Regions from separate parts of the Homo sapiens genome. Here region 1 is linked to region 2. Evidence: promoter capture Hi-C in human tissues and cell types (Jung and others, 2019). All regions are on one chromosome and are shown on one strand. The core of a region is centred on a gene start or on the middle of the fragment in contact, and the rest is flanking DNA. Distances in the headings are between cores, read along the strand shown.

What was found. Contacts are between HindIII fragments. The study calls those that stand out against the background at their distance.
Region 1: a fragment that was not itself captured here is called in contact with the fragment with the promoter of COTL1 in region 2 in 1 of the 25 tissues and cell types used here (dorsolateral prefrontal cortex).

Annotation. Positions count from the first base shown.
Region 1 is chr16:84,098,670-84,103,539 of GRCh38, forward strand. It overlaps MBTPS1 (membrane bound transcription factor peptidase, site 1), which reads right to left. Exons shown (of 23, transcript NM_003791.4): 2 at 2,952-3,438; 3 at 384-641. The coding sequence starts at 3,114. Among named protein-coding and RNA genes, the nearest start is that of MBTPS1, 16 kb to the right of the region's middle. The HindIII fragment of the contact is 3,194 bases long and covers 381-3,574 here.
Region 2 is chr16:84,615,316-84,619,775 of GRCh38, forward strand. It overlaps COTL1 (coactosin like F-actin binding protein 1), which reads right to left and starts at 2,763. Exons shown (of 4, transcript NM_021149.5): 1 at 2,523-2,763; 2 at 2,186-2,268. The coding sequence starts at 2,599. RefSeq lists silencers at 2,592-2,641, 2,662-3,021. The HindIII fragment of the contact is 16,310 bases long and covers 1-4,460 here.

The sequences.
Region 1 (4,870 bases), core at 728-3,227, 520 kb before region 2:
CAAGGAAGAAGCAGACACAAGGACGCGTCTTTCAGCACGAGAAGGCGGCCGCAGCCTTGAAGTCTGAAGGCTTTGAGATGAAGCTGGCGAAAATCGCTTCCAACAGAAACAAAGATCACTACCATCTACTACTGCAAACCCTCAGATTTTCTTCTACCAGAACAGTACGAAGTCTCTTTTTAAAAAATAATTCTGCCCCCCCAACACCGACCCTGCGCACTAAACAAAACTAAACTAAAAAATTCCTACCAGGAAAATGTTCACAATTAGCAAACTAGATGGAAGGATGCGGATACTCACTGTACTATTTTTCAACTACTCTGCAGTTTGAGATTTTCAAAGTAAACAGCAGAGAGAAATTTGCCTACAGTCACAATACTCACATTCAGCATACTTGAGGGAACGAAAGACTTTTCGTTGGGGCGTGACCCGTTTGATGTTTGGATGATCTTCAAGTGTTAGCAGCCCCGCTTTCTGTTTTTCTTTTATCTGAATCACCTCAAAATCACTAGGGTAGTCACTGGATGGATTGTTTCGAGGTATAATTCTCCAATTGTCTACTTCACTGCTCTTCAGGGCACTTGAAATAAATGAATTTCTAGCTTTGGCTGTAAAGTATCCATTGAAAGCCACAATATATTCTGAAACCAATCACCACAAACAAAAATAAGATTTACGCACATACATTATAACATATACTATATTGTATCTAATCTAAAATCTGGCAAAAGAAAAATTATCTTAAAGCCCACAGCAGACGAGAGAAAACACAAAGACTAGTTTAAGTACCTAGACAGCTGTCTGCAGAGCTTTGAGGAAAAATGATCTATATGGGGCTGGGCGCGGTGGCTCACGCCTGTAATCCCAGCACTTTGGGAGGCTGACGTGGGCAGATTACGAGGTGAGGAGTTTGAGACCAGCCTGGCCAACATAGTGAAACCCCATCTCTACTAAAAATACAAAAAATTAGCTGGGTGTGGTGGTGGGCGCCTATAATCCTGGGAGGCTAAGGCAGGAGAATCACTTGAACCTGGGAGGCGGAGATTGCAGTAAGCAGAGATTGCACCACTGCACTCCTGCCTGGTGACAGAGCAAGCCTCCGTCTCAAAAAAAAAAAAAAAAAGATCTCTATGAATCACCTAACCACAAAGAATACATCATTCGAAACCAGATACCCGTGATATTTTTTTAAAAAGCAAATACCTACAGAAGTTTGAATACACAACAAAGAAATGTATATAATTTTTATCAAGTAGGAAAAAGAAATTCAGAGAACTGAATGCTCAGTTAGTGTTTCTTAAAACGAAAACAGTAACAAAATTCCAGAGTGGATTATGTGAGACTATTTGCTCAGTTCTTCACATCTGGTCACTCAAACTTTAGAACATAAACATTCTGCACCTCCCAGCTCCCCACCTTCACCAATTACAATGGCACCTGTTCCAAAGAATCAAGGTGTAGGCTGGGCACAGTGGCTCATGCCTATAATCCCAGCATTCTGGGAGGTCGAAGTGGATGGATTGCTTGAGCTCAGGAGTTTAAGACCAGCCTGGGCAACATGGTGAAACAAAAAATAAAAAAATTAGCTGGGCAGGCCGGGCACAGTGGCTCATGCCTGTAATCCCAACACTTTGGGAGGCCAATGCAGGAGGATCACCTGAGGTCAAGAGTGCAAGACCAGCCTGACCAACATGGAGAAACGCAGTCTCTACTAAAAAGACAAAATTAGCCGGGCATGGTGGCACATGCCTGTAATCCCAGCTACTCGGGAGGCTGAGGCAGGAGAATCGCTTGAACCTGGGAGGTGGAGGTTGCGGTGAGCTGAGATGGTGCCATTGCACTCCAGCCTGGGCAACAAGAGTGAATCTCCATCTCAAAAAAGAAAAAAGAAAAAACAAAAATAAAAAAATTAGCTGGGCACGGTGGCAGGTGCCTGTAGTCCCAGCTACTCAGGAGGCTGAAGTGGGAGACCACTTGTGCCTGGGAGGCCAAGGCTGCAATGAGCTGAGATGGCACCACTGCACTCCAGCCTGGGCGACAAGAGCAAAACTCTGTCTCCAAAAGAAAAAGAAAAGAAGGTGTAGGTAAATAATTCATGTCAATTTCCTTTTATCATATAAGCTTACTCTACTGGGAAAACAAACTTAAGCAAAGTTAACATTCATGTGCTGTGCACTCAACCCATTGGAAATTTACTACAGAAGGCCAGGCACGGTGGCTCATGCCTGTAATCCCAGCACTTTGGGAGGCCAAGGAGGGTGATCACTTGAGGTCAGGAGTTCAAGACCAGCCTGGCTAACATGCTGAAACCCCGTCTCTACTAAAAATACAAAAAAAAAAAAAAAAAAAGGCCTGGCACGATAGTTCATGCCTGTAGTCCCAACACTCTGGGAGGCCAAGGCAGGCGGATCACGAGGTCAGGAGCTCGAGACCAGCCTGGCCAATGTGGTGAAACCCCATCTCTACTAAAAATAGAAAAAATTAACTGGGAGTTGTGGCGGGTGCCTGTAGTCCCAGCTGCTCAGGAGGCTGAGGCAGGAGAACTGCTTGAACCTGGGAGGTGGAAGTTGCAGTGAACCGAGATCGTGCCATTGCACTCCAGCCTCAGCAACAGAGTGAGACTCCATCTCAAAAACAAAACAAAACAAAACAGAACAAATCAAAACAAAAAATTAGCCAGGGACGGTGGCAGTCACCTATAATCCCAGCTACTTGGGAGGCTGAGGCATGAGAATTGCTTGAATCCAGGAGGTGGAGGTTACAGTGAGCCGAGATCATGCCACTGCACTCCAGCCTGGGTGACAGAGTGAGACTCTGTCTCAAAAAAAAAAAAAAGAAAGAAATTTACTGTAGAAAAGAGGAACATGTTATTCAGCAATAGCTAATTTTATATTAAGTAAGCTTTAAAAAAATAGGATGGGAGTTCCTAATACTTAAGACAACATCATTACCATATTCCACAACTGTTGATGAGAATTCCACCTTCAAAGTCAGGTGGGAACAGCCAGGGCATGGGGCCTTTTCAAAAGATTTCTTTTCCAGTCTGTCGCCCAGATGTTTCTTCCCACAGAGCAAAACCACGAGCAGAAGCAGCCAGATGTTGACAAGCTTCATGGTCACAAGCGAATATGATCATAAAATTGCATATATTCAAATCACACTTTTTTCTTCTTGATTAAAAGTGAATTTTTGTTTCAGCTAAAAGCTGCAACATTACTAATCAGCCATCTTACAGTCTTGCCCAACATAAATAAAAGTTAAATCCCATGGCCTTTTGTGGTTCAGCCTGAAGAGAGGCTTTCATTTCTTTCTCCGCTTCTTCTCCATCTTGGAAATAAGGCTTCTCTCACTCAGGCCGTGACGACTGAGTCCTGTACTCCATTTGTACCACAGAACCAACGTCCAATGGGGTTGATCAATCAACCACTGTGAGCCAATCTATGAAACAAAAAACAGTGCACACAGACATTAGTAGCAAACTGACATAGCCAGGTATGATTTAGTTGTATTTATAATTTAAGCAAGTGGGTCAGCCAGGCAAGGTGGCAGGTGCCTGTAGATCAGCTGCTTGGGAGGCTGAGGTGGGAAGATCACTTGAGCCCAGGAGTCTGAGTCCAGCCTGAGCAACAAAGTGAGACCCTATGTCTAAAATAATAAAATAATAAAATAAATAAGAGGGTAAAAGAGATATCCTGGTTTTAAGACAAATTAATGTGCCATACAACCATGAAACATATTATTTCATTTTTATTTACTTATTACTCACTGCTTTCACGGGAAAATTTTTTTTAGGCATCTTCAAAAATAAAACAATAAAATCAATGAGAAAAATGGAAAAAAGTAAGGACAACAAAATAACACCAAAAATATTAAGCACACTGGACCTGAGCATTCTAGCAGCCAAAGAGAAGAAGGCATCAGGATGATCCTTTGTTCTGTTTCAGATTCTGTATTTCCTATCATTTGCAACTCAATCCCCAGAGCATTTCCCCAGTTGGCACTTTTACTTCCCACAAATTTCATCAATTTTTCAGGCAAAAGCTTGGTATAAAGCCTTACTTTCTGCTGTAACATTAATACCTAACAGCAAAGTAATTTCCCTATCAGTGATATTTAACACCTTCTTTAAGAAACACTATGCTTTAATATTACATAGTTTGAAATATTTTCTACCAATTCTATGAAAAGAGCATAAAAGGGTTTACTGTCCTGAAATTTATTTTACCTGAAACCTCACACTTAAAGAAATGTAACCTGCTAAATGTGTTATAAAACCAGATTATCTCTTTACTGGAGTGACATGAGAAGACAGTTTGTGAGGGAAACTACTGCTAAAGAAAAATGTCACCTGAATATTAAATTAAGCATGCGCACAGATATCTTCCAAAACATCTGAATTGTAAGAAAAACTGCCATTCTTCACAATGAAAACAGAGCGATAGTAAAGAACAATGCTGGCTGTAGCATAACCAGAAAAACAGTTGCACAGACCATACCCGGGGCGTAAATAATCCAGCAGGGTAGGGGATGGGTAAATGAAGCAAGAGAGGCCTTCCAGTGCTACTTAGGATTTTATTATTATTATTATTTTTTTTTTTTTTTTGAGGAAGGGTCTCACTCTGACACCCAGGCTGGAGTGGGTGGCGCAATCTCTGCACAGTTCACTGCAGCCTCAACTTCCTGGGCTCAAGCAATCCTCCAGCCTCAGCCTCCCGAGTAGCTGGGACTATAGGCATGCATCACCACACCCAGCTAATTTTTGGATTTTAATATAGAGAAGCAGTCTCGGCATTTTGTCCAGGCTGGTCTCAAACTCAGGTGATCCAGCCACCTTGGCCTCCCAAAGTGTTGAGATTACAGACAAGAGCCG
Region 2 (4,460 bases), core at 1,513-4,012:
CCCATCCCTGGGGGGCAGGAGGTGGGTCTGAGCAGAAAACCACAAGCCTGTGGGAGGAGGGAAGTGTTCTCCCACTACACCAGAGTGGGCTGAGGCCTGGGAGCACCTGCCAGGAGCCTCCTGATGGGATGGATGCTCTTTTCCTCATCCCCTTCTACTTGCTGGAGAGAACAGTAGCTTCAGAGGCAGAACATGGTTTGATGGGGGAAGGGAGGGATGGGTGACCAGCGGGAGGAAAGAAGCTGAATTTAGGGAGGGAAGCTGGTCTGTAAAGCATAGCCTCAGAGCCGGCAAAGCAGAAATACTGCTGACTCTCCTGGCTGTTCACGGACCGGAGGGGAGAAAGTTAAGAGTTTGCACTTACTCCACTTGCAAAAGCATTCAACTACAGAGGCGGAGGGACGGAGGCCTGGGTTCAAATCCTGCCCTGCCAACTCTCCACATCGTTGCAGTGCTTTATGCTGCGATTTTAGGCCAACTGTTTACAAAAGCAATGAATGAATGTCTACAGGCAGCGCTCAAGGAGTAATTTTAGTTTTGTGTGTGTGTGTGTGTGTGTGTGCGCGCACGCGGGTTCTCAGTATCACCCATCCTCTAGTAGTCACACCACAAATACCCTTTGAATTGAACTAAATGCAAAATATAATTTGATTATGGAAGCAGTTAAGGAAAGAAACACCCACATGATCCCTGGCACAATTTTGTACTTTTTATTTATTTCGCAAACAATCATGTAGCTTGTACAGGCACTGTTCTGAGCATTTTATACATACTGACTCACTTATCCTCGCAACAGCACTGTGAGAGTGCAGGTGAGGAAACCAAGACCCCCAGAGATTAAGGAACTCGTTCCAAACCACACAGCCAGGAAGCAGCCGTTCAGGGATTCGAACCCACACCGTCGGCCGGGCGCAGTGGCTCACGCCTGTAATCCCAGCACTTTGAGAGGCCAAGGTGGGCAGATCACCTAAGGTCAGAAGTTAGAGACCAGCCTGGCCAAAATGGTGAAAACCCCATCTCTACTAAAATTACAAAAAATTAGCCAGGCGTGGTCGTGGGCGCCTGTAATCCCAGCTACTCAGGAGGCTGAGGCAGGAGAATCTCTTGAACCCGGGAGACGGAGGTTGCAGTTAGCTGAGATTGTACCACTGCACTCCAGCCTGGGCAAAAGAGGAAGATTCTGTCTCAAAAATAAATAAATAAATAAATAAATAAATAAGTAACCCACACCGTCTGGCTCAGGGTCCACGCCGTAACCTCCGGGCTGTGCTGCCGTTGTCCGAAAGCTTGCTTCCAACTAAAGACCAGAGATGGGAGGGAGTCGCATTCTCCAATCTCTTTAAAAGGTCCCATTACCAACATCACAGAGCCTCTGCCACTACCGAAGGGTTTATGGCGATGCCTGCCACGTGGTCTTTCTTTTCATGGTTCACAAGCCACAGGGAAGTGCCTAAGGCACACAAATCTTAAGTATACAGTCTGATGATTTTTCACGCGGGTACACACCTGCATAACCCCCTCCCAGATCAACAAATGTCTACAGAGACATTTTCAGCTCCCAGCAGTCCGGGTGGTGTGCCCCTCCCCATCAGTGGCTATCTAGCCCCAAAAGCTAATCTCGATTCTGACATTCACACCATAGATTAGTTTCGCCTTGTCTAGGATTTCTAAATGGAATCATATGGTGTGTACTCTTTTGCATCTGATTCTACTCGTCAAATTAAAAATCACATAAAATCAGCACACGGGCAGACAATGATAGCGGGAGAAAGGAGGGCGCGGCTGAGTTTCTTTCCCTTCCAAGCAGCCCCCTAGCCTGTTCGTATTTGGGCTCAGTGACTGATCAAAGGGGACAGTGGGAAGAGCTGGATGGACACTGGAGTTTGGAAACACAGGAGTTGACCTTAGAAAACCAGTGGACCGCAGGGGGCAAAAGAGCTGCCCCGCCTGGAGAAGGCATTGTAGGATGGCGGAGGCAGGTGGGTCACTTCTGTTGCTTCGGATGTCCAGAGGGGAGAAGGTTTTATGAGGCCTTAAAACGCTCACACCGGGTTCCTCCCACGCCATGCGCCAGGGGCACCCCATGTGGCCACCGGTTCCTCCCGGGTTCGCTCTGGCCGGGGCTCCCCGGGTGCAGACAACCTCCCAACGACCGCGCATCCGCCCGGCAGGCGCGCCTCCCTACCTGTGCACTGCTGGATGAAGTGCTGGTACTCCGCTCCCTGCTCGCCGGGGACGATGGTGGAGCCGTCATATTTAAAAGTCACCCTTTGGGTTGGGAGAAGAAAAAAACACACACACACATCAGCGCTGGTGGCCGCGCGACGCGGCGCTTGCAGAGGACAATCTAACAGACGCGCTGGCCACGGAGAAGCCCGCGGGGGCCTGGCACGCCGTCCCGGAATAAGGCGAGGAAGACAGCGCGGGAGGCCCGAATCCGTCCCGCCTGGAGGCCGGCTCGGTGCACGAGGCCCCGCGCGAGCCCGGGGAGCGGGGCGTGGAGACGAATGAAAAGTTCCTACCAGATGACGGCCGAGCCGTCGTCGCGCACCAGGTTGTACGCCGCCCGGCAAGCCTCTTTGTCGATCTTGGTGGCCATCGCCGCGGAGCCGCAGCGGGACACTGTCCGGGGCGGCCGAGCGCGCCCCTGGCCGGCGGCGGGGATGGGAGCGCGGCGGGTACGCGCCGAGGGCGCACGGGCTGGCGGCGGTGGCGACGGCTACGCGGCGCCTGCAAGCTGCGAGCGCGGCGGCGGCTTCCACTGCGGACGGAGAGCGCGCGGGGACCCCAGGCCGTGGCCCGCCCCGCCCCCCCGCGCCCATTGGCCGCCCAGGCGGCGGCCCGCCTCTTCATTGGCCGTCGGGCTGCGGGGGCGGAGCGTCTTGATTCTCTGGCGGCCAATCCCAGACCGGAAGGCTTGCGCAACTCCGCGGTGGGGGCTGGAGTAGGGGCTTTGCCTCCTCCCTCTCACTCTCCCTCCTCCCTCCCGCTCTCTTCTCCCCCAACATCCCTCTTCTCTCTCCTTCTCCTTCTCACTTCCCCTCCTCCCCTCCCGACCCCTCCCTGGAAACTCCCACTACCCCAACCCCCTTTCCCACCCCGCCTTCCTCCTCTCCCTCCTCCTTCCTCTTCTTCCCCCACTGCTTGCTTCCCCCACTTCCCTGACCTCTTCCCCCTCCCTTCCCTCCCCCTCTTTCTCCCTTCCCCCTTTATTCTTCTTCCTCTCTCCTCCTCCCTCTTCTTGCCTATCCCAGCCCAAAACTTCTCCATCCTCCCTATTTCCTTCTCCCCAAGCTCTCCTCTTTCCTCCTCCTTGACCCCCTCCCCTGCTGCCCCCGGCTTCGCCTCCCTCTTCTCCACTTACCCTCCTGGCATCTCCTCCCTCCCTGTCCCCTACTCCCTCCTCCTATTCCCCCTCTCCCCCTTCCTCATTCTCCCCACCCCCCTGCCCCTGAGGCTGCAGGGCTGCAGAGCTCCACAGGGGACCTCCACGTGGATGATGTAATGCGTCAAACCCAAGGAGACAGGCTGGCCACTGTCCCTACCCCAGCGTTTGGTTCCATGGATTCTAGGTGGGGAGGAACTGGAAAGAATGAAGCATTTTAAATAGGAGGGGGTAGAAAGTGGACTGCTTCCAAAACGCTGGTGGGCTCGCGTTTACTCTGGATTCTGGTCATTTGCATTCCTATCTTAACCTCTCCCTTTGGGCTCCTCTGAAAGCACGAGCTGACTCATTCTGTCTTCCTCATTCCTTCACTGACTCATTCATTCATTCCCTCATCCAGCCATTCCACAGAGACCAGTTACAGCGTCCAGGTAGGTAAAAAGGCAGGATCCTGAAGACTGGGCTCTTGAATTGCATCCAGTACTGCCACTTTCCAACTGGGGGCCATTGGAAAGCCTCAAAACCTCTTTTAAATGACTCCTCAAATGGGAAAAATAGTATAACTGACATCACTGCTTTGTTTTAAGTGTAATTGAAATGATACTTGGAACAAATATACTAGACATTCGATAAAATGTCATCATTGTTGGTTATTAAGTGATAAAAACAAATCCTAAATAGAAACCCAAAAGGTCAGGGACAATGTCCAATTAATGTTAGAATTCTCAACAAGCAAAAAAACAAAAACGAGAAATTGAATGAATCAATCAATCAGTCAATCAATGGGTAGTTGAATGGGTGGGTGGACAGGAACACAGTTTCAGAAGAGTAGAGGCAGATGCTGTTATAAATAAGACAAAAAGAAATTCACATTTCATACCCCACAAAGCCATTCCTACCTTACTCCTTGACAAGGGTAATGGGACAATTGGCCATTAGAAAGAAGAACAAAGGTGGATCCTTTGATCAGGGAAAATTCCAAAAGGATCAAAAATTTAAACACAAATAAAGGAAATCAGACCAGTCGCAGTGGATCACTCCTGTAATCCCAGCATTTTGGGAGGCTGAAGTGGGA